Linked DNA regions of Homo sapiens: region 1 is linked to region 2. Evidence: promoter capture Hi-C in 16 types of primary human blood cells and fetal thymus (Javierre and others, 2016). All regions are on one chromosome and are shown on one strand. Each heading gives the region's core, a stretch centred on a gene start or on the middle of the fragment in contact. The rest is flanking DNA. Distances are from core to core; before and after follow the strand shown. Region 1 overlaps POLA1 (DNA polymerase alpha 1, catalytic subunit). Region 2 holds the start of POLA1 (DNA polymerase alpha 1, catalytic subunit).

What was found. Contacts are between HindIII fragments. The CHiCAGO score rates a contact against its expected background, and 5 or more counts as called.
Region 1: a contact is called between a fragment that was not itself captured here and the fragment with the promoter of POLA1 in region 2, in 1 of 17 cell types (neutrophils). The highest score is 6.4, in neutrophils.

Annotation. Positions count from the first base shown.
Region 1 is chrX:24,925,403-24,928,496 of GRCh38, reverse strand. All of the region lies in intron 35 of POLA1 (DNA polymerase alpha 1, catalytic subunit), which reads right to left. Among named protein-coding and RNA genes, the nearest start is that of ARX, 89 kb to the left of the region's middle. The HindIII fragment of the contact is 5,373 bases long and covers 1-3,094 here.
Region 2 is chrX:24,692,267-24,695,349 of GRCh38, reverse strand. POLA1 (DNA polymerase alpha 1, catalytic subunit) reads right to left here and starts at 1,432. Exons shown (of 37, transcript NM_001330360.2): 1 at 1,346-1,432. The coding sequence starts at 1,388. RefSeq lists enhancers at 1,171-1,260, 2,963-3,083 and a silencer at 1,451-1,610. The HindIII fragment of the contact is 2,747 bases long and covers 1-2,592 here.

The DNA of each region.
Region 1 (3,094 bases), core at 401-2,900, 230 kb before region 2:
AATAACAAATTGGAGTAAATTAGGAAGATATATTTTTGCCAATTCATTTTAATTGCCCCTCAGTCCTTCCGTTGGTTAACGCAGCTGTTGACCCATAATAAGCGCTGGGTCAATATAGCTGCTTGTCAATTCAGAAATGCAAAGTGCTGTGTTGCTAGTAATGGATATACAACAACCTTTGCCAGCCAACTGAAGCAAACGAGTGACAACCCACATGAAGGAATAAAGCGTCAGCCACGGAGTTTAGTGACCTGATATTAGTAGGCAGGCTAATTGAAAGTCACTGCCTAAATGGATAAGGAAAATAGGGGAAAAAATTAAAAAGGAGTTATATATTTTAAAAAAATATACCAACACCTCCTGCCCTTTTGATTCCTGACATATTTTGCAATTAGTAAACTGGTTGAAAACAAAAGGCCCTATTACATTTTCAATGTCAAATACAATTAAGTGGTTTTAAAAAACACACATGAAACAGAGAAAACTATAGTTTAAATGAACAAGAATAACACCTACTTTTGTTGTCTTGATTTTGCACCACTAATTTGTGATCCCTTGGAGATTTTTTGTTTTTTAAAAAATCTTTACCATCTTTTCTCTTTTGCCTTTGATGATAAATTCTTCTAATCAAGAAACCTGACACTCTCTAGTCTTATCTGAGATCTTCAGCGTTTTTTTCCTCACACTTAAATGCTCATTTTGACTGTACAAGATTGGATGGAAAATACTTCAAGAAAATAAGATGATATTTTAACATTTCTTTCTCTCTCCAGCTTTCACTTATTGGTTTAAAATGTTCGATTTCTTGCTCTTTCCTTGAAAATTGCACTCAACACAGTGCCTAGGCTTCTTTCAGTCTTCCTTTATAGTTAGAACATCATGTACCAAAGTGGCCGACTGTGATTTGGTAAGGACAATACTGAGCTGAAATAGCTACTGTATGTATCACGCTCTGCATTCAAGTTAGTTACTTGGAGTGTTACCAGAGTAATAAGGGTGGGCCACGGGTGCACTCATAGGTCCATATACACACAGGGGTAAGGAAAGAACTCTGTTTTGATACCTGGCACAGGGGACGACTTGGCAAATATTGTTGAAGAAATGAAGGGAAAAGGAAAATGCTTTAATACCACCGTTTTTTATGTGTTCTTTTTGAATCCTGTAATCAGATTATATTAGAAACAACGCAAACTTCATTCTTTCTCCAAGTCAAAGTACTTTATGACCAAAACATAGTCCTGAATCCATTTATCAATATTATCCAGTCTCTCTCCTGAGATTTCTGATGAGGTCCTATATCAGTGGTCCCTTACCTGGCTGCAAACCAGTCACCCCAAGAGCTTTAAAAAAAGTACTGATAGCTGGGTGTGGTGGCTCACACCTGTAATCCCAGCACTTTGGGAGGCATAGGAGGGCAGATCACTTGAGGTCAGGAGTTCGAGACCAGCCTGGCCAATATGGTGAAACCCCGTCTCTACTAAAAAAAAAAATACAAAAATTAGCTGGGTGTGGTGGCGCATGGCTGTAGTCCCAGCTACTTGGGACGCTGAGGTGGGAGAATCACTTGAACCTGGGAGGTGGAGGTTGCAGTGAGCCGAGATCACGCCACGGCACTCCAGCCTGGGCAAAAGAGTGAGGCTCCATCTCAAAAAAAAAAAAAGTACTGATGATCAGACCTCAGCCCCAGAACAACTAAATGAGAGTATAGAGTGGAGTGCTGGATATGAGCATTTTAAAGGGCTGCCAGGTAGTTCTAGTGGGCAGTCTGAGATGAGAACTGCTGTGCTACACACTACCTGTATCGGGGATACTTTTAGAACCATAGACTCTGATCCTTCTAATCTGGCTCAAGATCAAGGAATTTATGTTATCCAAAATAGGCTGAGAAGTTTTCATGAGAATCATTTCTGAGGAAGATGCTTGCTTGTTTAAGCAAGTTATTTCAAGATTAGGATAGGATATATTTTCTGTTACATAAAATACAGGGCAGTGTTAAAGCTGACTTGCATTTTTTTGGTCCTAAATTTTTACTGAATTATAATAAAAACACAAGAAGTACACAAATACTAGGTGTACGGCTTGATGCACAAAATGAACACATCTCTGTGATCAGTACGCAGAGCAAGAAACAACATTTTTAGTATCCCAGAGGCCCCCCTTATTCCCCTAATTATTCCCCATCTTCCCCTTAAAGCTAACAATAGATTTGCCTTTAAACTTTATGTGCATGCAGTCGTACAGTTTGTGTTCTTTTCTATTTGGTTTCTTTCTATTTTTATTTTATTTATTGTGAGACAGGGTCTCACTCTGTTGCCCATGCTGGAATGCAGTGGCGCAATCATAGCTCATTGCAGCCTTGAACTCCTGGGCTCAAGCAATCCTCCCACCTAAGCCTCCCATGTAGCTGGCACCACAGGCGCGTGCCACCACACCCAGCTAACTAAAAAAAAAAAAAAACTTTTAGTAGAGATGAGGTCTTGCTATATTGCTCAGGCTGGTCTCGAACTCCTCAGCCATCACACCCAGCCTTCTTTTTCTCAATATTGTGTTTGTGAGATTCATCTATGTTGTCCTGTGTAGCAGTCACGCATTTCTTCTCATTGTTGTGAGTCCCAGCTACTCCGGAGGCAGCAGAAACGCTTGAACCCAGGAGGTGGACGTTGTAGTGAGCTGAGCTCACTCATGCCACTGCACTCCAGCCTGGGCAACAGAGCAAGACTCCATCTCAAAACAAACAAACAAACAAACAAACAAACGGAATGATGCTACTGTGAATATTCCTGTACATGTCTTTGAAGCACATATTAATATGTATCATTTTCTGTTGATTACAGTTTGGAGGAGGGGAAATGCTGAGTCATAGGGCATGCAAATGTTCAGCTTTAGTAGGTACTGCCAAACTGTTTTCTGAGGTATCGATTTCATCTGACTTTCTTTTGAACTGGTTTGACAAGACAGTCTTTTACTTTATATTTCTAAGATATTTGCATGGGAACATAACCAGTCTTTTCTCTCTCATTTGTAGGGACAGCAGAAATTAGCTAAAGTCATCTCATAACACAACTTGTCCCTGAATTAAATTCCTTGAGGTATG
Region 2 (3,083 bases), core at 183-2,682:
AGTATGTCTCCAATGCTTCACGTAGGTAACTTAGCAAAAAAAGAATAAGCATGAAAAAAATCCAGCTACAAAGGTTTAAATATTTGTTTCAAAATTACCATCTGGAGTATCTCTATCCTCCCCAAAAGCAGACAGACACTAGCTTACAGCAGTCTTTCAGGTAACAATCCTTCAGTCTGCTCTAAAGGAAAAATTCCAGTCACAAGTCCCCAGCAACTACTTAATGAACACCATGACCTAAGAGGAGTCTCAAGATTGCACAGTATCCTCCAAAGTGATTTCCTGATGTTCATAGATGACGTAGTTTTTAGGATGAAGAAAGGGCTTAGTGGCAAATCACTGATAGAGGCCTGCAAAGACTGTTCGTTCACATACTTACACCCAACATCCTATCTGTAATCCAGGCAGGTCGACTCTCCAAAATAGTCTTAAAAAACGAACGGCTAGAACAAATTGAAATCTGTGACTCACAACTAGGTGAATGCAAAGGAAGCTGATTAGGAAGCGAGTTCTCATTAATGGTGATGTATCTGAATGACAGGAGAGGTGACGCTTGAGCTAACAAAGTGAAGCATCTGATTTTAAGTTAGAAGTTAACTGAAGTCACGCTTTAGTTGAACACTTAAAAAATCAGACAAATCTATTTGCATTTTTGTATTCTATTTTTGGAAATAAAAGACACCCCTGACAAACGGAGTGATATACAGGGGATCCGAAATGCCCTAAATTGATGCCATTTTTTTGAAACTTCACCAGGAATGACTAGATTGTGAACAGGATTTCTACGCAGCACTTGAAGAACTTTCCAAAGAATCTGAAAGAAAAATTGTTAATGCATAAAGTAGAAACCCATTACCTAAAAATACAAAACGCGTTATTCCCCGATGACAGCACTTAGAGCTTTCTTTCCTGCTTAGTTACAATGTATAAAATTTTCCTGGAAGTTCCTACAAAAAGGGACACAGATCTGTTCTGTTCAAGCCTTCAAGTGGATACTTAGGGAGATCGCAGTGAAATACTTTCGGCCCCACGGGGCCAGTCTCAATAAAGTTATACCCAGCACGTGGGTGCAACTCACCAAAAGAAATAGAAACGCAATCGACTGTGGAGACTCTCAGTGGCAGAGGTGAGACAGCCTCCCAAACAAAAATCCCTCCAGGCTCTGGTCCTCCAAGAGCAAACCGCGCCTAAAGGAAGCCCGGTCCGACGCCAGAAGGGCCCCCGCCGGGGACGACCAAGGTCTGCGCCCAAACAAACCCGGGTGTGCGCCTCCCTCAGAACCCCCACCACCGGCAATCATGCCACTGTCCCAACCCGGAGCCCCGCGCGCGGAATTGTCCCTCACCACTCGCCCCTATCTCACAGTCGTCGCCGTGCACAGGTGCCATGGTCCCGAATCTCCCGATTCCGCGCCAACCAGCCCAAAACTGGCGCGGGGGCCGAGACAGGCGCCAGCCTGAAAGCCAATCAGCGGCTCGGGAGGCTGCGGACTTCCGGCCGGAAGGCCACTGACGTGCCGCGCCGCGCCGCGCTCCGCCCCCGGCCTTCCCGCGGACGCGCGTTTGGCGCCCTGTGATGACCCCTTAGGGAAAAGCTAGAGCTGAGGGGAAGCCGGAGGAGAGCAGGAGAAAGAAGCGGTCGGGCGCTGGAAAGGAGCCGCCTGGAGACTGCGCAAGCGCACGCATGCTGATGGGAAAAGATTTGGGCGCGTGGGAGAAAGGGCGCTCTGGTTCTCAGAGCCCATTTTCCCGGAAAGGAGGCGCGGGCGGGCAGGAGAGTGGGCGTGGTTGGATCGTTTTCCCCAGAGCCGGGAAAGCGACTGCCTCCTGCTGCGCGCCCTGAATTTTGCCTGATAGTTTGCTTCTCAGCAGTCTGGATACAGTGGCTGTGTGATTAACAACTTAAAGATATATGCTCCGTCTTAACCAAATAACCAGAAGTAGCATTACCAATAAATGGCCATCTGATCTCATATGCCTCCTGATGTAATGCGTATGAAAAAGGAAAAACTTCGCCTATATGGTCTTCTTGCAAAAAATGTCTAACCTGAATCTAACCATGAAGAAACAATCAGATGTATTCAAAATGTAGGACAATCTACAAAACACCTGACGTGAACTCCAAAATTTCAATGTTATGAAAAACAAAAAGGGTATTCAATTTTTGTGTATGATACAATGGCTGTAATGTGTACATCTCATGTTATCTCTTTCCAAAAAGGTATAACATTTTTATTAAATAATGCCTGCCACACATTTGTATTTTTTCCTACATTATTGCCCACATGCTTATTGATCCCTTCTTCATGTGACAACAATTTTGTAATATTTTCTCCAAAGAGGATATAAAGATAATTCAATCTGTCTTCTAGCATGGTTGATCAATACTTGTTTCTTAATTTCTGATTGTTTAGAAAATGTCTTTCAGCTTCATAATCATTTAATATCATGTTATGTGATCCATATGTTGTGATACATAACATGTAGTAATTTACACTTAGACATAACTTCCTATTTAAAGTACTACGACAGATTTATTCCTACACTTCCCTTTTAAAAACTGATGGAAGTTTTATAGTTTTATTATCAAGCTTTTTCCAACCAGGAGAGAACCATGTTGGCTAGTCATTAATAAGAACCAAATCCTTACCTTAACAATTTCACAGCTGATTACTTCCCACATGCCCGGGTATAACTCTAGGCATTTCAAACCTCTTTTCTCTTTCACTACTGCTGTGGTCTGAATGTTTCTCTCCACATAAAATGTATGCGTTGAAACCTAATCACCAGTGTGGTGGTGTTAGGAGGTAGGGCCTCTGGGAGGTGATTAGGTCATCAGCAGGAACCCTCCCTCATGAATAGGATTAGTGCCCTCGGAAAAGAGGCTCCAGAGAGCTGCCTTGCCCCTTCTTCCATGTGAGAACAGAGCAATAAGGCACCATCTATGGACCAAAAAGTGGGCCTACCCCAAACACTGAATCTGCCGGCACCTTGATCTTGGAATTCCCAGCCTACAGCACTGTGAAAAATAAATTCCTGTTGTTTATTAGCCACCCAGTTTGTGGTATTTTGTTATAGCAGCCT